Linked DNA regions of Homo sapiens: all the other regions are linked to region 3. Evidence: promoter capture Hi-C in 16 types of primary human blood cells and fetal thymus (Javierre and others, 2016). All regions are on one chromosome and are shown on one strand. The core of a region is centred on a gene start or on the middle of the fragment in contact, and the rest is flanking DNA. Distances in the headings are between cores, read along the strand shown.

Evidence for each region. The method cuts DNA at HindIII sites, captures the fragments that hold promoters and counts their contacts. A CHiCAGO score of 5 or more calls a contact.
Region 1: a contact is called between a fragment that was not itself captured here and the fragment with the promoter of SSTR2 in region 3, in 7 of 17 cell types (M0 macrophages, M2 macrophages, monocytes and 4 more). The highest score is 22.7, in M0 macrophages.
Region 2: a fragment that was not itself captured here is called in contact with the fragment with the promoter of SSTR2 in region 3 in 3 of 17 cell types (M0 macrophages, monocytes and M2 macrophages); the score reaches 8.0 in M0 macrophages.
Region 4: a fragment that was not itself captured here is called in contact with the fragment with the promoter of SSTR2 in region 3 in 1 of 17 cell types (M0 macrophages); the score reaches 5.0 in M0 macrophages.
Region 5: a fragment that was not itself captured here is called in contact with the fragment with the promoter of SSTR2 in region 3 in 4 of 17 cell types (M1 macrophages, M0 macrophages, M2 macrophages and 1 more); the score reaches 9.3 in M1 macrophages.
Region 6: a contact is called between a fragment that was not itself captured here and the fragment with the promoter of SSTR2 in region 3, in 3 of 17 cell types (M2 macrophages, M0 macrophages and M1 macrophages). The highest score is 6.6, in M2 macrophages.

The regions. Positions count from the first base shown.
Region 1 is chr17:72,977,581-72,981,327 of GRCh38, reverse strand. All of the region lies in intron 4 of SLC39A11 (solute carrier family 39 member 11), which reads left to right. Among named protein-coding and RNA genes, the nearest start is that of SLC39A11, 110 kb to the left of the region's middle. RefSeq lists an enhancer at 2,924-3,424. The HindIII fragment of the contact is 2,484 bases long and covers 826-3,309 here.
Region 2 is chr17:73,020,264-73,023,864 of GRCh38, reverse strand. The region is part of intron 4 of SLC39A11 (solute carrier family 39 member 11); the gene reads left to right. Among named protein-coding and RNA genes, the nearest start is that of SLC39A11, 71 kb to the left of the region's middle. The HindIII fragment of the contact is 2,729 bases long and covers 895-3,601 here.
Region 3 is chr17:73,163,586-73,167,328 of GRCh38, reverse strand. SSTR2 (somatostatin receptor 2) reads right to left here and starts at 2,319. Exons shown (of 2, transcript NM_001050.3): 1 at 2,041-2,319. RefSeq lists a silencer at 2,065-2,404 and an enhancer at 2,945-3,194. The HindIII fragment of the contact is 15,303 bases long and covers 1-3,743 here.
Region 4 is chr17:72,958,861-72,962,183 of GRCh38, reverse strand. The region is part of intron 4 of SLC39A11 (solute carrier family 39 member 11); the gene reads left to right. Among named protein-coding and RNA genes, the nearest start is that of SLC39A11, 130 kb to the left of the region's middle. The HindIII fragment of the contact is 9,360 bases long and covers 1-3,323 here.
Region 5 is chr17:72,942,291-72,945,745 of GRCh38, reverse strand. The region is part of intron 5 of SLC39A11 (solute carrier family 39 member 11); the gene reads left to right. Among named protein-coding and RNA genes, the nearest start is that of SLC39A11, 150 kb to the left of the region's middle. The HindIII fragment of the contact is 2,203 bases long and covers 327-2,529 here.
Region 6 is chr17:72,925,286-72,928,992 of GRCh38, reverse strand. All of the region lies in intron 5 of SLC39A11 (solute carrier family 39 member 11), which reads left to right. Among named protein-coding and RNA genes, the nearest start is that of SLC39A11, 170 kb to the left of the region's middle. The HindIII fragment of the contact is 6,640 bases long and covers 1-3,707 here.

The DNA.
Region 1 (3,747 bases), core at 818-3,317, 190 kb after region 3:
CATTTAGCCAGCCATATGTGTGTATTGAGTGCTTGAAGTGTGACTAGTCCAGATTGAGATGGGCTATAAATAAAAAATACACAGTGGATTTTGAAGACTTACTAAAAATATATATGTATAAAATATCTCATTACCAATTTTTATATTGCTTACCTTATTGAAGTGAAACTATTTTGGATATATTTGGATAAAATAAAATATGTTATTACAATTAATTTCACCTGTTTCCTTCCCCTTGGTGATTGTGCCTACCAGAAAATTTAATGTTATATTTGTAGCTCACATTCTATTTTTTTTTTTTTTTTGAGATGGAGTCTCCCTCTGTCACCCAGGCTGGAATGCAGTGGCATGATCTCAGCTCACTATAACCTCTGCCTTCTAGGTTCAAGTAATTCTCTGCCTCAGCCTCCATAGTGGCTGGGATTATAGGCACCCACCATCATGCCTGGCTAATTTTTGTATTTTTAGTAGAGACGGGGTTTCACCATCTTGGCCAGGCTGGTCTCAAACTCCTGACCTCTTTGATCCACCCGCCTCAGCCTCCCAAAGTGTCGGGATTACAGGCATGAGCCACCGTGCCCAGCCTCACATTCTATTTTTATTATATGGTGCCGCTTTAATCTTTTCAGCTCTGCCTCTTCAGGTACTATTCTGTTTCAGTTGCTGCAACTTCACGTCTTATCATCTATTCGTCTTCTGTATTACTTGTATTACGTTCCTTTTCAAAAGTTTCTTGGTTATTCTTACAGCATATTTTCCCATGTGAACTTTAGCATCAGCTTGCGAATTTCAAGAACATCGTCTAGGTATTTTTTTTTACAAGCTTTGTTTCAAATTTCTACATTAACGTAGGCAGAAATGACAGGTTTATGACGATGAGCGTTTCTGCCTAAGAACAAAGCTCACCACTCCATCTATCCAGGCTACTCATCGCGTCTCCCAGTAGCATTTTAAGTTTTCTTCATAAGGACTTTTCATGTTTAGGGTTGAATGTATTCCTGGGTATTTCATTTCCTTTTATGAGTATTACAGACGGGGTCTCCTATTTCATGACATATTCCATCTGGCCGTTGTTTTTGCATAGAAAAGCTATTGATTTTGTCTTGAGCCACCACTAATTTTGTCTTGAGCCACCAAACAAAATACCTTTTTTTGTTAATAATCGTTCTTTAGATGATTCTTTGAGATTTGTACATGTACAGTAATATCTTCATAAATAAGCACCTGGGTCCCGCTATTGTTGGTGGGAGTTATAGATGCAAATAGGATGTCATGGTCTTAACAGAGCAGGGTGGCTGGGGACAGGAAGGGTGGCTGTCCCAGCTGGAGAGCTGGTGTAGGAATCAGTGGATCCAGCAGCAAGTCGTGGGAGAAGGATGCACCATTTTGGGGAGGTCATGGGAAGTGGGTGTGCTGCTTTGGGGAGCAAGTCATGGGAGGGGTGCTTGCCGCTTTGGGGAGCAGGTTATGGGAGGAGGGCATGCTGCTTTGCCTCCATCTACCTTGGGCAGTAGCATAGGTTTGAGACTCTGCCAGCTGCATCATCTGAGGTCTTGGTTTTCCAGCATGCTACCTGTTATAGGCAAGATTTGTTTTGGGGTCCTGTGTTGGAGGGAGGTGGGTTAGTGTGAGCTCTGCAGAGCAGCCTCCTTGCAGCTCAGCTGGGTAGGGACAAGGCAGGGGCCTGAACTGGCTCGATTTTCTGTGGCGCTTCACACATCAGGACCCAAATTTTCCCTTTTCTAGAAATTCTCAAGTTGCCCTCTCCTGAGCTTGTACTGATTTACACTTTCACCAGTAATGTTTGGGAATGTCTCTATCCGTCCCTCATCCCATTGCCTGCTCTGCTTCTCAAGACAGGTGAAGACAGACAGTATTTCCATGGATCAGATGTGCTCTCGGAGTCCAGGTTCCTCTCAGCATAACTGGAGTGAGAATTATCTGTCTCACTTACATAGCCCCTGTATTAGTCTGTTTTCAGACCATTATAAAGAACTGCCCAAGACTGGGTAATTTATAAAGGAAGGAGGTTTAATTGACTCACAGTTCTGCGTGGCTGGGGAGCCCTCAGGAAAGTTACAATAATGGCGGAAGGTGAAGGGGAAAAAGTAGCTTCTTCACAAGGCGGCAGGAAGGAGAAGTGGCAAGCGAAGGGGGAGGAGCCCCTTATAAAACCATCAGATCTCGTGAGAACTCACTCACTATCACGAGAACAGCATGGGGGAAACTGCCCCCATGATTCAGTTGCCTCCGCGTGGTCTCTCCCTTGACACGTGGTGATTATGGGGTTTACAATTCAAGATGAGATTTGGGTGGAGACACAAAACCTAACCATGTCAGCCCCAGAGCAAGGGCCTTCTTTTTTATCTTTGTAAAATTATGTTTCTGGCTAGTCAGTCACCTCATTGAAAGCAAGACCCAGACCTCATCCTTCTTTGTATCCCAGGGCTGAAGGCAGGGCCTTACCAGAGTTGGCGTGCCCTAAGTGTTCAATGATAACAGAGATGATTTGTTGTTTCCTTTCGTTCTCATGAACAAGTGCTGTTGGCACCTTTCCAAAAAGGTCTTGTGGACCCATCCTGTCCACTCCTTTCCACCCCAGCCTAAGGCATTACTGTCTCTGTCCCAGAACCTGGCCTCCTGACTGGTCCCCCTTACTCCCTCACCTCCACTTCCATGCTCCCCACAGTCTCCCCACCCCCTTCTTAGAAGCTCCCCAAGCCCTGTCCCACCTCCCGGCCTTTGCATCTGCTATTCCTTTTCTCTGAAACAGAGTTCCCGAAGCTCTGTGCGTGGCTGCCTCAGTGCAAATGTCTCCTCCCAAGCTCCTCCCTGACCCCCCACAATGTGCGTGGCTTTCTCTGTTTATTTCCTTCCTAGAACTTGTCAGCAACCTTCCTTATCCAGTTTGTTCGTTTGTATATTTTTTACTTCTTTATCATCGGTTTCCCCACCACAATGTAGGCTCCTTGAGGACAGGGACTTTGTTAGGCTTGTTCTTGGCCGTGTCGCCAACACCAGCACAGTGACTCACAGGGAACAATGCTCGGTAAATATCTGATGAAGGGAGGGAGGGAGCAAGGGAGGAAAGAAGGGAAAGAGGAAGGAAGGAAGGAAGAGGAAGAGGAAGGCAGGGAACGCCTAAGGGCAGGGAAGAGGGCTGTGGTTTGGGGTTTACAAATGGGGCCCAGACGACAGCCCAGATTCTCACTAGAACCTCCCCGTACTTCCCCTGCGTTCGCAGGCTGGAGGACGGCCTGGAAGATTCTCAACGACCACCCTGGCTAGGAATCCAATGATAGAGAAGCTTGCTCGGAGACTGACATTTTGCTGGTTTTTCTCTGGTGACCCGGTGACTCACTGCTGGTTGCTATTCCTGTGGCTTTGTGGGTGGGAGAGGCTCCTGGGAACAGGTGCCGATGCAGTCGGTCTCCTGGGCACCTTCGCTCTCCCAGGCAGCTGGTGGCTGGCCGTGCTCTCCAGGCCACCTCGGTACTTTACTGCTTTATTGAATAGGAAGCATTCATTCACTTTGGGAGCCGTTACCCTTTGGATAATATCACTACCGTTTCCCCAAACTCATTGTTGCTGTGTGGGGGTGTTTCTGTTCCAGCCCTTTGTTTGTGTGTTTTATGGAAGGTGCTAGCACTTCATGGTTCTTTCCCACATGTCCCTAGTCCCTCTCTCTGCTCTTTGCTCTTTCACTTTCTCTGATGCTTTTTCAGGTGGTTCATCTAAACTTGTCCC
Region 2 (3,601 bases), core at 1,010-3,509, 140 kb after region 3:
ACGTGCCCAGCTTTCCTCTTTCCATGAAGACACCAGCCACATTGGACCAAGGCCCACCCAAACAGCACCATTTTGGGACCGGGTGTGGTGGCTCACACCTGTAATCCCAACACTTTGGGAGGCCAAGGTGGGCGGATCACGCAGTCAGGAGATCGAGACCAGCCTGGCTAACACAGTGAAACCCCATATCTACTAAAAATACAAAAAATTAGCCAGGCGTGGTGGCACACACCTGTAGTCCCAGCTACTTGGGAGGCTGAGGCAGGAGAATCACTTGAACCCAGGAGACAGAGGTTGCAGTGAGCCGAGATCACACCACTGCACTCCAGCCTGGGCAAGAGTGAGACACTGCCTCAAAAACACAAAACAAACAAACAACAACAAAAAAAACCAGCACCATTTTGATTGGACACCTTTTCAACTCTTGGGCTCAAGCAGTCCTCCTACCTTGGAATCCCACAGTGTTGGGATTACAGGCATTAACCATGGCACCTGGCCCATCTTCAGTTTAAAACGTTGATTTTCTACTGGCCCTATCTCTAAATACAGTCACATTATAAAGTATAGGGGGTTAGAGCTTTGATACATGGATTTTGGGGGGCACAATTCAGCCCAGGGTAACATCTTTTTTTTTTTTTAGGCACTGTGATTGAAAGATGGTAGAGTGGCAGGAGCTCAGCTGTTAGTTGGGCACTGGGCGTTCTGAACCAGTGGTCGCTTCCCTGACACTGGAACAGTGGGCTGGCTGGCTATGCCCTGAGGGGCATGGCAGGCTAAGGAATACAAATACACAGTACTAATTAATACTTCAGTTTCTAAGGGAGGAAACCTGTGAGCTTGCAGTAATGGAAGCGGTGCCTGATAATTCTGGGCTTGGGGAGGGTTGAGAAAGCTTATTGTTCAGAAGGGTTCACTGGCAAAGGAAAACTGAGTTTTTTTTTTTCTTTGTGAAACAGGATATTTTAATTCACAGGGTGGGGTTGCTCTTGACACACTGAAGCCACAGGCCCTTCATAGTGTGAAGTTTGGAGAGAGCTGGCATTCAGGCTGTCCTGGGTACCAAATGTATTCCCAGGGGCAACTGGAAGCCATGGTTAGCATTGTTTCTTCCACCTTTGGAGGCATTCCACAGCCTCCCGTGACTTTTAGGAAGATGTTCAGATGTTGTTTTGGGTCCTGCTGGCATGCAGACAGGCTGAAAAGGGGATGAAGGCAATTTCCTAGTATGGTGGGCTGGCCGATTCTTTTTTTTTTTTTTTTTTTTTTTTTAAGATGGAGTTTTGCTCTTGTCTCCCAGGCTGGAGTGCAATGGCGGGATCTTGGCTCACTGCATCCTTCGCCTCCCAGGTTCAAGCGATTCTCCTGCCTCAGCCTCCTGGGTAGCTGGTATTATAGGTGTGCACCACCATGCCCAGCTAGTTTTTGTATTTTTAGTAGAGACCAGGTTTCGCCATGTTGGCCAGGCTGGTCTCGAACTCCTGACCTCAGGTGATTTGCCCGCCTTGGCCCCTCAAAGTGCTGGGATTACTGGCATGAGCCACTGCACTCGGCCTGCTGGCTGATTCTTAGAGAAGACAGCAGTTTTGACCATTCTGTGGATGCCTGCAAGTGCGCATTTAGGTGATGGGAATGCATGCCATGAACTCTCTCTTTCTTGCCATATGCTCTCTTGGTTTTCTAGGGCAGCTGGTGAATACTGTTCTATGCATTTGTATGCCCATGTGTGTTAGCTGTGTACACAGTCCTTGCTCATTGAGGCTGCAGGAAAAATATCTGTGGCTTTGCAGTCAGTGGCACAGAGCATTTCAAGCGTGTCTGCTCTCTGGCTTTTGACCAGGGTTCAGAAACCCACCTCTGTTGTCGATATATATTCCCGGAGGACCCCGTGGGTCTGGCACGAACACGCGCGCACACACACACGCACTGCGTGGGCTGGCTTGCTGAGGGGAACTCCTTAAGCACGGAATGGTTCTTGTTCTTGGTCTAAGAGTGGTGGGGAGTCTTGAGTGCAGATAGGCTTGGTTGGAACCTTCTAGGACTTAGATTTCCTTCTCCGTGGGTAGAACACCTTTTCATTTGTTAGGCCATAAAGTTGTAACTGGATACCTGTCCTCTCTTGCTGTCTCTTGAGCTCAGCCACATGTTTATGAAAAATGCCCAGAAGCCACCGTGGAAGCATATTGAACCAGTCGATAGCCGAGGGTGGCAAAGATGATTATGAGTATGGAAGGGGAAAGAGGCTGGGAGCGGTGGCTCACGTTGGTAATCCCAGCACTTTGGGAGGCAGAGCTGGGCAGGAATTCATGACCAGCCTGGCCAACATGGTGAAACCCCGTCTGTACTAAAAATACAAAAGTTAGCCGGGCATGGTGGTGCCTGCTTGTAATCCCAGCTACTTGAGTAGGGCTGAGGCACAAGAATTGCTTGAACCCAGGAGGCAGAGGTTGTAGTGAGCCGAGATTGCACCACTACACTCCAGCCTGGGTGACAGAGCAAGACTATGTCTTAAAAAAAAAAAGAAAGAAAGAAAGAGTAAGGGAACTGAGTATGCATCTAATCTTCACTGGATCCCTTCTTCTTGGCAAAGGTGACTGGGACCGTGTCTGTCTTGCTTATAACCGTACCCCTAGCTGGGTGCTCCATAGAGCAGGTCCTGGTCATGCCTGCGTGGTCCATCTCCTCTGGGATTGATCGTGGTGCTGGTAGTGTTGATGCAGGTCCCCAGGCTCAGGAACCAAAGTTGGAGAGTTAGATAAACAGTTCTGGCTGGTGTCAGGGAAGAAATGAGAAGTGAAGTTTGGGGGTAGAGATGTAGTTTGGCCAATTCATGGGAGGGAGGGAGTTCTGTGAAAAGCACTGGAAAGCCAAAGCATTGTTCTCTCCGGGCTGGGCGTGGTGGCTCATGCCTGTAATCTCAGCACTTTGGGAAGCCAAGGCAGGTAGATCACAAGGTCAGGAGTTCGAGACCAGACTGGCCAATATGGTAAAACCCTGTCTCTACTAAAAGTACAAAAATTAGCCGGGTGTGGTGGCACGCGCCTGTAGCCCCAGCTACTCGGGAGGCTGGGGCAGGAGAATTGCTTGAACCCAGGAGGCGGAGGTTGCAGTAAGCCAAGATTGCACCACTGACTCCAGCCTGGGTGATAGAGTGAGACTCCGTCTCAAAAAAAAAAAAAAAAAAAAAGAAAGAAACAAAAAGACCCCCCAAAAACCCAAAAGCATTGTTCTCTCTCACATGGTCCCCTGGGGAGGTCATGAACAGTATAAGCTGAAGCAGAAGTTCTTTTCAGATTTCACTTGGTTTCCTTTAGAAATACTGCTCCATGTAAAAGTCAAGGCAGACATCAGCTAAGTGGGTTCCTGCTATCTAAATTGGCTTGGGCTGCCATAAAAAAATACTGAAGTCTGGCTTAAAGAACAGAAAAATATCAAGGTGCTGGCAGATTCAGTTCCTGGTGAGGGCTCTCTTTCTGTCTTGCAGATGGCCACCTTCTTGTGTTCTCACATGGTAGAGAGAATGAGAGAGGGCGAGCTCTCTGATGTCTCTTCTTACAAGGACACTAATCCTATTATGAGGGTCCCATCCTCATGACTTCATGTA
Region 3 (3,743 bases), core at 1,070-3,569:
CCCTACCACACAACTGTCTGTGAAGTGAGATCTGGGCTTTGTGGCTGACCATTTTGTGAAGTATTTGAGGCACCTGGAATTTCATGTCTGCATTGCGTAAAAAAGCATAGACTGGCAGCAATTAAAACAGAAGCTGTACAGAAACTGTGGTTAGTATCCCTGGATTAACTTGGGTAGTTTCGTTATCACTTCTAACCATCTGGTCAGTTGGTTTAATTCTACAGAGCCAGAATCCTATTCAAGCTGCCTGCAATCAGAGTGTACCTTATCATGGGGATTTCCAGGGGCCCATCTATATAACATGAATGGTCACACTCCAATGTCTGAGTAACACGGAATCCCCCTGGGTTGGCAGAGCCCCTGTCTAAGAGCTTTTGGGCTAGGAACGATGATGGTGCAGGGAGTATGAGAGAGGGTTGAGTGTTGCTTTCCAGCCCTAACTCGGTCATTTTAACTGGAGTTTGAGTCAACAGGACAGAATTGCTTAATGGTAGCAACAGACAGGGTTCAGAGTCTTGGTGAAGGTGGTGGAGGTGGGAGGCTGGGGAGCCGGCTGAGAGTGGGAAGGCTCCTCTAAGCAAGAAATGAGCTTAAATCATGGGGAGTCTTATTTAACAAAGAAGTCAGCCGCTTAAGGTCTTCCAGAGACTTCTGTTTCATTTTTGTTTCAGAGAAAGAATATTCCAATGCCAGGCAGACAATTCTAGATGAATTGTGGTTAAATTAAATGTACAAGGAAGTTTCGTTTTCTGCATTCTTTGTTTTTCCAGCCCAAGAATTGTTAGATGCTGGAAATGGCTAGTGGTTGGTTTCCTCTGAACCATGTCCAGGCTCTGTAGAGAGGAGGGTGAGAATGGTCTCACGCACCTGCCCCCCCCGCCCCCCTTTTACATAGGGGCTGTGATTACCAGCCCAAGAAATGAGTGTTGGGATGGCGACCCGACATCAGGGGAGGTCCTAAATCCTACTCAGCTTCAGTTTCTCCTCTCCCCATCATGTTTCCCGCATTCACTTCCCACCCCCCGCCTCCCTCAGGGCCTGCAGAACCCGGCTTGGTCTCTGTGCGGCTAGAGCGAGAGCCCCCACTGGCAGGGTGACAAAAGCCCCTGAGGGCCACCGCGGCGCGTGAGCGCCTGGGAAAAGCCGGGGCGGTGCTGGCCTACGGGGTTGAGAAATGGAGGGGCGAGTGTCAGGACCGCGGAGCCGGTTGCTCCCGGCTGGCACAGAAAGTCCTCCTCCTGGCCATCCAACTCGCTGATCCTCAGAGCAAGGGTTTCCCAAAGAACTCTGTGCCATTTCCAGGAAGACGAGGCAAGAGCGGAGATTGTGGCGCCAGCACGCCCAGTATCGAAACGCACAGCAGGGGTGCCGGGTGTGGGGGGGGGGCGCTGAGGACAGAGACATCGGGGCGCAGAAGACAGTCGCTTGGGGGACTTGGCCAGCGGCTTTTGGGCACGGCCTATGCAGTGGTTTTTTCTCTCCAAACCTAGACAAACTGTCCTTTCTGTCCCGAGGTGGGGGACGGGGACGGATCCTAGATCGTTCAGCGTCTAGGGAGAGAAGCCCCTCTTTCTCCGCTCTGCGCCCGCCGCCTGCCTCTGGCAGGCTCGGATCTCCGGGTGCGCTCCCGCAGGAGCCCCAGCTGGCATCTCACGGCCTCGCTCCCCTCGCGCCAGGTCTCTTTTGTAGGGGGCTGGGAGAGAAGTTGTCACCCGTCGCAGCTACCTGAAATCTCGGGCTAAAGGGCACACGCCACGCACACGGGCATGAGGCTGCGAGGACACGTCCGTTCCAGCACACTCTACCCACAGCCCCCTTACTCAGGCAAGGGTACCCGTTGTCGTTCATTCCTACTACAATCACCCCAAAAGGCACAAGAGCGGAGAATCACGCACCGGGACCTAAGCTCAGGCACTCGGATGGGCACACCACCATCAGCGCAGATGCACACAGGTGCCCAAGTGCGCTTCTCGCTCCCTCCATCTCTCTTATCACACACACACACACACACACACACACACACACACACACACCCCTCACCTTTGCTTTTCCGCTGCAATCCGCTAGCTCCGGTCTCCGACACCCAGCGGCTGTCCCCGAGCCAGCTGGGCGCCGGGGCGCGCAGCAGCTTGGCTAGCGCCTGGCGCCGGACGTTTGGGGTTCCTGGCTCCTCGACCCTCTTGTGCCGGCTCCCGCTAGCCCCTCGCACGTAGAGAGCTCCCCTCGCCCGCAGACCCCCGGCGCCAAGCCTCAGACTGGGGCTCTGGGCGCTGGTGGTCTTGCGAGCGCGCGCGCATGGGTGGCTGCGCCGCTGGGACTGGCCCAGCCAGCCCGGGCCCCTCGGCACATTTCCCCACGCCCCCCTCCCGCTACGTCACAGCGGCTTCGCTCCGCCCCCCCAACCCCTCCTCCCGGGTCCTGCAGAAGGACAGGGGTGAGACCGGCTGAAACGCCTGCGGGTGGCCGCAGGCAGAGCTTACAGACAGCCGGGGAGCGGGGAGAGAGGGGACCCGCCTGCGGGGGCGTAAAAGGTTAAGCGTTTTCGGTCTCCTCAAGACTCATGGCAAGGACAAGCGCTATTTTCCCTCTGATTTCACAGAGTCGATTCCCTTCCACCCATATATTCTAGGCAGCTGGAGTGGCGGCCGGGGTGACCCAGACTTATACCGGGACCTCTGTGATTTCCTTAGCCAAACAAGTTAGCAAAGCTGTGTTTACCGTGGGCCAGCCCCGGGCGCAGGGCGCAGGGCCAGGCTAAGAGTAGGGAGAAAAAGGGCTCAGGGGATAGCGCTTCTCCATGCAGTTCCCAATGAGCGCAGGGAGTGTAAACCCGCACCTGGAGTCCAAGATTCAGTCCTAGGAGCCATCAGAGGGCCAGTGGACGTCGACTGGTCCCAGCTGTCCCTGCGTCCCACAGCTTGGAGGTGCAGCGGCCATACAGGTGGTCCCCTTGCTGTAGCCACGTCAGTCAGCACCTGCTGGTCTGACCCAGCACAGTCTCTCCTACATGCTGTGAGGGAGCAAAGGGGAGCAGGCAAGAAGTGGGAGTCGCATGGAGTTGCAGCTGTTTATTTTTGACTGTGATGATTCAGCCTCTTTTCCAATAGTTTAATAAGTCATAATCAATCCTGCAGCCTCCCCTTCCTCACCCTCCTCCAAGTACATAGGTATACACACACACACACACACACACACACACACACACCATCCTCAGTACAGTTTTAGAGGATGTGAAAACAGAAAGCAAACCCCAACTAGCTTTCTCTGTGAGCTGAGCTGCCTTGATTTGTCCATCCTATTATCTGATTTCCAATTCACCAGGGAAAAGTAAAAGTCCAGAAGCTGTGTGGCAGGTGGGGTGAGCCTTAGAGATAGATGAGTGACATGGAAAAGCAACCACCAGGTACAGCAGCAGCCAGCTCTCTCTTCTATCTGGGCCAAGCTGTATCTTGGGGTACCCACTGTGAGATGGGGATCAGGAGTTTCCATCTCTCTCTGAGACGTTGGTCATGATAGGGCTTAAATCTTGGCATCCTGGAGCTCAGGGTGAGATGGAAATTGAGCTGCAATTGCCTTAAGTTCCAGGAGTCAATCTGGGAGCCAGCATCTCTTTTAGACATGTGTATGCAAGTGGAAGGGCTGGGGTGGCTAGCTCACTGGAAGAGGGCTGTGTCTGCTCACCGTCAGTGGGAAGAGGGAGAGGCAGAGAGGTAATAGTAATATCAGGAGGGCATCGTGGAATT
Region 4 (3,323 bases), core at 241-2,740, 200 kb after region 3:
TATTTGCTTTGGAATTTAGGCTTAGAAAAGAGAGAGAAGGGAAGATGCCAGTCTCCACATACCCACAGCAGGAAGCAGAGAAATGTTTCCCTTAGAAGCAAGCTGCTTCAGTACTTTCTCAGCTCTCAAGTCCTCATCAAGCCCAGATAAGTTTAATAATGAATTCTGCTCCAAGTTGAGTGATGCCATGTATAAAGCCCCGTTAAAGAAACATTGAACACGTTCTTCAAAGCCACAGCTTTTCTTTTGAAGTAAGTTAGGTACCATTTGCATACTATTTCTTTCTTTTTTTTCTTATTATACTTTAAGTTCTAGGGTACATGTGCACAATGTGCAGGTTTGATACATAGGTATACATGTGCCATGGTGGTTTGCTGCACCCATCAACTCATCATTTACATTAGGTATTTCTTTTAATATTATCCCTCCCCCAGCCCCCCACCTCCTGACAGGCCCCAGTGTGTGATGTTCCCCGCCCCGTGTCCAAGTGATCTCATTGTTCAATTCCCACCTATGAGTGAGAACATGCGGTGTTTGGTTTTCTGTCCTTGTGATAGTTTGCTGAGAGTGATGGTTTCCAGCTTCATCCATGTCCCTGCAAAGGACATGAACTCATCCTTTTTTATGGCTGCATAGTATTCCATGGTGTATATGTGCCACATTTTTTTAATCCAGTCTGTCATTGATGGACATTTGGGTTGGTTCCAAGTCTTTGCTATTGTGAACAGTGCTGCAATAAACATACGTGTGCATGTGTCTTTATAGTAAAATGATTTATAATCCTTTGGGTCTATACCCAGTAATGGGATTGCTGGGTCAAATGGTATTTCTGGTCTAGATCCTTGAGGAATCACCACACTTTCTCCACGATGGTTGAACTAATTTACAATCCCACCAACAGTGTAAAAGTGTTCCTATTTCTCCACGTCCTCTCCAGCATCTTTGTTTCCTGACTTTTAATGATCGCCATTCTAACTGATGTGAGAATAGCAAGCATATTTCTTTCCAGCCTTATCCATTGTCCTAATACTCGGAGGTCTCACCAGAAGGTGATGAGAACAGGCCTCCTGAGCCATCAGTCCACTCTGTTTGGTGGCTTGTGACTGTCTTAGGCTCGCTCTTTCATGCTGGCTCTTTTGTGCACACACTCTCTCTCACCCTCGTGTTCCTGGAGTCAGGAAAAATCATTTTATGGTTGCCAAAGCTATGAAAAATGTTGATAAGCCATACTTTAACCTTTTTTCCTCAGCAGTGCTGAGATAAAGATCTCTTTTCCAGGATTGGTAATAGAAGCGCTGGTGTACTTACTTTTATTTTTATAAATTGTGGTGAAGAAAAAGGAAGGGTTTTTTTTTTGTTGTTTGTTTGTTTTTTGAGACAAGGTCTCACTATGTTGCTTGGCAGGAGTACAGTGGTGCGATCATGGCTCACTGCAGCCTTCAGCTGTTGGGCCCAAGCGATCCTCCTGCCTCCCTAGTAGCTGGGACCACAGAGATATGCCACTATACCCGCTTTTTAATTTAATTAAATTTAATTTAATTTTTTACTTTTATTTTTTGTAGAGATGGGGTCTCGCCATGTTCAGGTTGGTCTCAAACTCGTGGGGTCAAGGGATTCTCCTGCCTCAGCCTCCCAAAGTGCTGGGATTACAGGCGTGAACCACCACATCCAGCCTGAGGGCTGGGTTTTATAGAAAAATTACCTTCTTGGTTTTTGTAATCTCCAGCTGGTATGACTACAAGAGGCTATTTATCTATCTATCTGTCAATCTATCTACCTACCTACCTACCTACCTACCTATGTATACAAGAGGCTACCTATCCATCCATCTATCTATGATAAATGCTACTGAATCATTTTTATCTATTTATCTATCTATCTATGATGAATGCTACTGAATCATTTTTTAATGATGGTAAACAAAGACATTTATTTGTGAAAGTGATAGACATTTTGAGGCCAAGGGTTCCAGTGCCTTTTCCCCTGGATAAATATGACCATGCTGCTGTGTAAGGAGAAATATTTTGCTGAGTATTCTGCTCATTGAATACAGAATAGAATTGCATTAAACACTGTCCCCTAAAAGTTCATCTGCTGAGTATGAATAGGCTTTATATGTGGCCAAATAAGTATGGGAAATATAGGATTAAACAAAACCCTGTTCTTTACTGCGGGATTTCTCAGAATCTTTATCTGCTTATGAAATAGACCTCACCAAACATATTTGTCTGCAGAATCTTTCCCTTGGAGCATCTCACGAAGCAGGGAACTCTGGGAAATTGTGGTTTAAGACAGAATGAGGAATTAAGGAGATTTTGTCCATGTACAGAGGTACACATGGACTCTTGGCTCCTACTTTGACCACTGGAGGCACAGAGAGTGGTGACTTAAATAGTTTTTGTGATTTTTGAGCTTAGAAGAATCATTGTTAGGTTCTCAATATTAGTATATATTTAAAAAAATTTTTTTCCATAGGTTATTGGGGTACAGGTGGTATTTGGTTACATGAGTAAGTTCTTTAGTGGTGGTTTGTGAGACTTTGGTGCACCCATCACCCGAGCAGTATACAGCACCCTGTTTGTAGTCTTTTATCCCTCCTCCCTCTGCCACCCTTCCCCCCAAGTTCCCAAAGTCCGTTGTATCATCCTTATGCCTTTGTGTCCTTATAGCTTAGCTCCCACATATCAGTGAGAACATATGATGTTTGGTTTTCCATTCTTGAGTTACTTCACTTAGAATAATAGTCACCAATCTCATCCAGGTCACTGCGAATGCTGTTAATTCAATCATTCTTATGGCTGAGTGTAGTATTCGATCATATATATATATATATATATATATATATATATATATATATACACACACACACACATACATACACCAGTTTCTTTGTCCACTCATTGACTGATGGGCATTTGGGTTGATTCCATGATTTTGCAGTTGTAAATTGTGCTGCTACAAACATGCATGTGCAAGTATCTTTTTCATGTGATGACCTCTTTTCCTCTGGCTAGATACCCAGTAGTAGGATTGCTGGATCAAATGGTATTTGTACTTTTAATTCTTTAAGGAATCCCCACACTATTTTCCATAGTAGTTGTACTAGTTTACATTTCCAGCAGCATTGTAGAAGTGTTCTCTGATCACCACATCTATGCAAACATCTACTTTTCAAAATTTTTTTTATTATGGTCATTCTTGCAGGATTAAGGTGCTATTGCATTGTGGTTTTGATTTGCATTTCCCTGATCATTGGTGATGTTGAGCATTTTTTCGTATGTTTCTTGGCCATTTGTGTATCTTCTTTTTTTTTTTTTCTTTTT
Region 5 (3,455 bases), core at 179-2,678, 220 kb after region 3:
TGGTAGCGGAGTGAGGTGTGTGGGAGGGAGATGTAACCCAGTCCCCCTGCTCAAGAACACTAGGCACAGCCTGTTACCGGGTTACCAAGCAACCCTTGTAACCGTTGCTAGCTGTTCAGCTGCAAAAGCAAATGCAGCTCTTGGGGAAGCACAGAGATGATCTCCCAGCCATCTCTTGAAAGGTCGCTGTTCTTCTCACCTGGACACACCTGTGGGTGTCAGGCACCTGAGGACTCCAAAACTGATAATGGCTATTTGATAACTGGCTTCATGCAGATGGAGCCTGAATATGCATTATTTGTACCATCTGGATTTGCCCTTAAGCTTGCTGTAAATGGAGCAAGGAGATGGGTTTAATGGGTATTTAGTGAATAACATTAGCCTTTAAAACATCATATTGGTGCTGCTGTTGTAATGTCCCATAATTGGTTCGACCAGAGGAAGAACTAGAAAGGCCACACTCTGGGAGAGGAGTTCAGCTGCTCTGAGGAGCAGCAGCAGTGACGGCAGCCTGAGCTGGGAAAAGCATTTATGAGATACTTTCCTATTTAGGTCTTAGTGTGCAATGTTTTCTGATATCAGCTATTCTCAAGGCTGGGGATATTTTGGGACTTAGGTAGGCCAGAAGAAGTTCCTTTAAATCTATCAGTCTCTCTTTCTTTCATTCTCTCTCCCATCCATCCATCCATCCATCCATCCATCTCCAATTAGCTTTCTTTTAATTAAAAATATAATGACATCGGTTAAAAGTAATTTTTCTTCCACCTTCAAATCCCTTATGGTCTAGTCCCCCCATCTCAGACACAAACATCGTTTCTAGTTTCTTGTGCATCCTTTCAGAATTATCATGTTTCTATAATCACACCTGACCCATTGTTCTGTATCATATGTTTTTGCACTTAACGGTACCCTTGGGTGTTTTTTTCCTGAGGTGCTCATAGATCCATCCCATTCTTGTTATTGGCCATGATGCTACCTAATTAGCCCTCTCTGGATGCCCATGGGGTTAATTCTGATGCTTTGCTATTGCAAAGAATGTGGCACAGAGCATTTTAGTATCTACATCTCTGTGGACAGTTATATTGTTGAGTAAATTCTAGAAATGAGGCCAGGAGTTCTTTATGTCTGGGCTCCATGCATGAGTACCAAAGGACTCACGAGCCTCTTGCATTTTATGCAAAGTCTGTGTGTGTGTGTATGTGTGTGTGTGTGTTTGAAAGGCAAGGGACTATAAGTTATATTTCATCACACCCCAGATGGCTGCATACACCCAGTGTTGTTCAAGATCTTGGGCTTCTCTGTCTCAGTTGTCCCCACTCAGCTGTCAAGTTGAGTTTTTTTTCTTTTCTTCATAGCATCCTCTGTAGGCTAAAGAGAAGGTAGTTAAAAGTGAATCAGTTGATTCTCTTACTAATTGTTAATTTCCCCATTTAAATATGCAGTATGTTCTGGGGGAGGAAGTTGAAATGTTACCAAGCATCAGTGGGCTTGCTGCCCGATGCACACAGAGGCCAATACCGTGGCACTGGCTTTTGAGAGAAGAACAGCTTTATTGGGAGTCAAGTCAACTGGCAGGGAGACAGGAGGGAATGCCCAAATCTGTCTCCCTGAGCTGGGGGTTGGGTTGGGTTTTATAAGCATAAGTAATGAGGTGTGATCTGATTGGATCTTGCAATGAGGTGACGTTAGGAGGCATTATCTGATTGGATCCTGTCATGGGGTGATGCCAGAGTTCAATCTCATTGGATCCTGGATCCTGCCATGTGGTGTCTGCTTCTTAATTCAGTCCCACTCCTCTGTCCCAGCACTTAGGTTCCCCCTGTGGTTGTACACTTGGTTCATCTGAGCATGCTTAGGTTACATGACCTGAGGGTCCATGGCAACTGAAAAGCAGCTCACAGCTTTGTTACATAAAAGTTGAACCAGATTGGTCTGATGCAGTTATAGATACTCTTCACTAGTGAACTTTGTCATCACTATTATTATTGGTGAATTTCATCGGTCTATTAGCATAGGAGAATTGCCTATCATTTTGTGTATCTGTGGAAAGACCAGGAGAAGGCATTATTTTCTGGTAGAGCAAGAGGTGGATTTACTTTAGGAGATTATTCAGTTGTGAGGTGCCATCTGTGCATTTTCTGTAAATCTTTCTGAAGTGTTGGGGGAAAAAGTGAATGGGTACTCAAGTCAGGGAAGCGTAAGCCGTACGACACTCAGGTAAGAAACAGATTTTTCTCTTAATGCCCTATTCTTATAGGAAAATTCACTTGGCAATAAGAATTCTGCCTACACAGCCTTGCAGATCTGATGCAATTATCAAAGCCATGTTTTGCAAAATGAAACTGATGCCAAGCTCGTGTCAAGTGGATTATAGATTGTAGAACTGCAGTCACTGGCCATTAGCTGAGTGTCTTTGTTTTCTACTCTAAAATCTTGAATTCCTTATTGGTTCTGCTTCTGATGTGCTGCGTGGCACTCTTCCTGTGGAAATGGTCTTGCAGGAGATGATTTTCCTTTCTAGCTCAAGCTTCTCAAGTGCCCAACCCCGGATCAGCAACCCCAGGGCTTGTCCTGTTCGGGAACACGATGGAGTTCAGTTGCTCTTTGATCCCCTTCTTCCACCTCAAGACACTCTCTCTTCTCCAGGTATCACAGTGTCCTCTTTCAGTCTTGTATTTGGAATCATCCCTTTCTCCCATTTTCCCTGTTAAACATCCTCCCTTAGGTGCCTTTGGAAAAAGATTTGATGAACTGAAGAACAGGGAGGTATTGGCCCATTGACTTCATGTTTTACTACTGCTTACGTGTTTGTCTGTTGACTGGGAACGGTTTCTCTAGTTCAACAATGAACCCAATAGGTGGGTTTTCACACTGGCTAGGCTTTGGAGGATTGCATTTTTTTAGACATAATGTGTGGGGCTTAGGGAGGGCAGCCAGGCAGTGTGGGATGCAATCTCTTCTCTGAAGCAGCTGGTTCTCGCTATAAGCTCAGCCACGTACATTCCACTCCCAAGTTTCCTTGGCGCTAAAACTGCTTGGAATAGCCTAAGCCTACGGAAGCAAAGATGACTTATTTAAACAGCTTCATGGTTCCTATTACCTTTCTTTTTCTGTATCTTCTAACTTTCCATGTCTTCCTGAAGGACATGTTCCTTTTGTCACTGATATTTCCAGTCAAATTTAGTGATCTTAAATTTGATCGAGAGTGAGGTGTAACTCCTAGGAGAAATTCTGAGTGTTTATAACTAGGTTTCCGAAATAATGTGTTTGGGGAAGTCTCTGAGATGTTATTAATTTTGACTTTTTATTGGTAAGATCTCTAAAAATGAAAGAGTATTTTCACAACAGTTCATGTAGATATAATTTCTTGGCATGTGGTTTTGGCAATCAGAGTTTTATTTATTTATTTTTTTCCCTGTACCTGCTTGGTTAGGGGAGACTTTAAAATCTTGTCC
Region 6 (3,707 bases), core at 924-3,423, 240 kb after region 3:
ACCCTTTCCCCAGCAAAGCACACCAATGCGGGTTCACAGGCATTTAACATTCGACTTCCTACTGCTTCTGGGCTGGCCCAGTGCAGTGCCTGGCATGAAGCAGGTGCTCAGGGCATGTCTGTTGACTGAGTGAAATGAATGAAGCCTACCTGTGGTTTTGTCAGGGTCCAAAGATCCTTGGTGATGAAAACTCTTGCTCGGTTCCCAGAGGCACGCACTTCCCTTTGTTTGTATCACCTCTATCTAGAAGCCTTTTCAATCTTGCTCTAATGCTTGAGGTACGGCCAGGGAGGTTCAGGCTGTGAGAGTCTATTGACGTAGACTCAAAGCAGGAGAGTGAAGGAGAGAATCAACTATCAGGGCCCTGGGAACCTGGAAATTCAATTTTTTTTTCCTTCAAAGCCACAGCCTACACTTCCTGGTTGTAAGATTTCAGTCTCCACTTTTTCCCACCCACTGCTCTGTTTTCTTCCATTCAAATTCTCATGTCTTCCTTACCTTCTTAATATGACATTTTGGAATTATTTTCTCTTTTCAGAGCTTGGACTAAATGAAGAATTCCTGATGGTCCCTTTGTTTTCTTGTTTGCTGGCAGGTGGGATAGAATCAGGATTGGTACTACCAGGATTCATGGTTTTCTTTCCTCTTTCTTTGGTACAGAACTTACGTGTTCTTTTTTTCATTAGTTCATTTGTTCATTCATACTTCATGGAGCCAACTGCTCTCCTTGGCTGAATCCAATTAGTGAACTTGGTCTCTGCCTTCACTAAGCCCAGGAAGAGACAGACATGTAAAACCAACAATTACACAGTAATTACAAATAGTCATCCTGCTATTTTGGATACTTGTTTTCTTTTATAGTGTCCAGAGGGTGGTTACAGTTGTCTAGAAAAGAATCCAATCGTTAGGCCTGGGATCCTCCTCTTTGTAGGAATTTTATCTTTTTTTTTGGAGCAATCAGTGTTATTTGAGCACATCAAATTCAGCCTTATTGAGAGTGAGATGGTTTCTTCCTTTATTAACCCTTTATTAACCCATGTACTTTGGACTGTGCTATATGGCTCAGGATGATACTACAAATGTTCCCTTTTCATGAATATTTCCTGTGTGTGTGACCTTGACTGTTGAATGTGGGCTTTCCAGTGTGTGTGTGTGTAGTGTGTGTGTGTATGTGTGTGTGTGTGTATACATTTCCTTCTCAATAGAACTGATTATTTTTGCATGTAAGAGATGAAATCACCTATTGATTTCACAAACCATCTGAGCCCTGTGCTCTTTTTTCCTGAAATTCTATGGGAAAATGAAAGGTAATTATGCATTGGAAGCACACACTAATAACATGCTTGTGGGTGGGGAGGCGTGATTGCAACATGGAATTGGCATTCCTGCTGGTCCTTGTCTTTGAATTTTCGCTACTGAAATATTTGAGATACTCCAGGTAAGCCTTATAATCACCGGGAGTTTTTTGTTTTAAAGCAGCATCAGTGTTTCTGAAACTCATGGGATGGCCTTCCATTCTACTGAACATTGGCAAGGTCCTTTTTAGAATATGTGTTGAATTTCATATACCTGAAGGCACAACAACAGGCTTGGAAATGCTTCAGTGAACACTGGTTCAAATCCAGGGCTGGGACTGGGCGCAGTGACTCATGCCTGTAATCCCAGCACTTTGGGAGGCCAAGGTGCGTGGATCACTTGAGAGGAGGAATTCAAGAGCAGCCTGGCCAACATGGCGAAACCCCATTTTTTTTTTATCTCTACCAAAAATAAAAATAAAAGTTAGCTGGGCATGGTGGTGTGCGCCTGTAGTCCCACCTACTCGGGAGGCTGAGGCAGGAGAACTGCTTGCACCCAGGAGGTGGAGGTTGCTGTGAGCTAAGATCACACCACTGCACTCCAGCCTGGGCGACAGAGGGAGACTCTGTCTCAGTAAATAAATAAAACAAATCCAGGACTGGGCAACCGGACATTGTCATCTGTAAGAGGCATTTTCTTTCACAGCTCTGTGTCTGGTGCTGTTCAAATCAGGGTAGTGGTCTCTTTTATTCAGTAATTCCCGTGCAAGGTCACGTGGGGCATTTATCTGTGAACAGAAGACTTTGAGTCTGCTTCTCACCTCAGCTTGATCCCCAGGTGTCCCCCTGGGGTCAGGAGCAGAAAGGGCCACTAAGGCCTACCAGTGCCTGTGAGCTCCATTCTGAGGTGCTCGGGAATCCCTTTTTGGGGTCAAAGATAACAACTAATTAAAACGTAATAAAGCTGGTATGTGAACAAACACGGCAGAACTCATCTGGCAAACGAGATTGGGCTCCCTGGAAATGGTCAACTTGGAATGATGGCATTATTCAAAAGACTTATGGAAGTCTCTTAGAAGGCTTCTCAGGGCTGGTTTATAATCAAGTTTAAAAACAAAGGCAATCTTATGTTTTTCTGGATGGACATCATTTTAGCAACAACAGCAACATCCCCAGAAAAAATATCTTCCCCCAAAACATTCAAAGCAATTACTCCGAAGTCAGAGGAGCCTCCAGTCATTTTTCCCTGAGGGGCAAAAAGGACTTCACAAGACAAACACAATCCCTGATATTGCATTTTCAGACATTTTCTCATGTCCATTTGGCCTTTGTGGCTTTAGCTGACTTTCTTTTGGTCTCTGGAGCCAACAAGGTTAGGTGAGAGGCTACAGTAAGAATGCAGTGAGAAGAGAGATGAGAACAAACTCACTCTCTACATATTTGTCATTCAAAGCATGGCTGGTTAAAAGGAAATTATGATTTGATTTTTTAAAATTTCATTGTTAATACTTTCACTGTTAGATGGCTCACAAAGATGATGGAATTTACTCAAAAGTTGAAGAAGCATTTATATGGAACCAATTGAGCTCTATGTCTCCTTCCCAGGAAAGATGAGGATTTAAAAGCCTGAGGGCTCACATGGGACCCCAGGCATATTCCTTGCATTAGATTGTGTATTGCTAAGAGTTTAAGCATTGATTTCAGTTGTCTGGGTGGAACAGGCTGCTTAAGTCAGCTTTGCCTCACAGCAAGGAAACCTCAAATCTCAGTGGTTTGCCATCCTGAAGGTTTATTTTGCTTCCAAATAACATGCAGGCTGCAGGTTGGCTGTATCTCTGTCACATTGTTTTCTCCTTCTGGATTCCAGGCTGAAACAGCAGCCCCTGTGGCCATGTGCAATGTCATGGTGGAGGGGAAGAATTAGAGAATTGGTGGAAACTCATGACGTCCTTGAAGAATTCTGCTTGGATGTGGAGTGTTCACATCCATTCACATTCTGTTGCTTAACAAATCATATGGCAAAGTCTGACATTGTACAGGGAAGTATGCTTGGCCAATAGGCAGGTACTGCAATTCCAGGTGGGGACATAAACATCTACTAAGGGGAGGGAGACATGAATAATTGTGAATAGAGTAGGCCTTCTGCATCCGTGGTGAGGAACACACAGATATGAAGAGCTGGCTCAAGGGACTTGATCAGCAGATCTTGGTATCTGTGGGAGGGAGGAGGTATCCCTACGGATACCAAGGGATGACTGTATAATACAGTCTGCTACAGTCTTCCCTCCTGGTCATAAATAATCATCTTATATATCATTTTGTATATTTATATACGACATAAATTCATTTCTGACTCATGGAAGATACCTAAAAATTCGCATGTAATCATGGAATCAGGTGTGAATTTCAGGA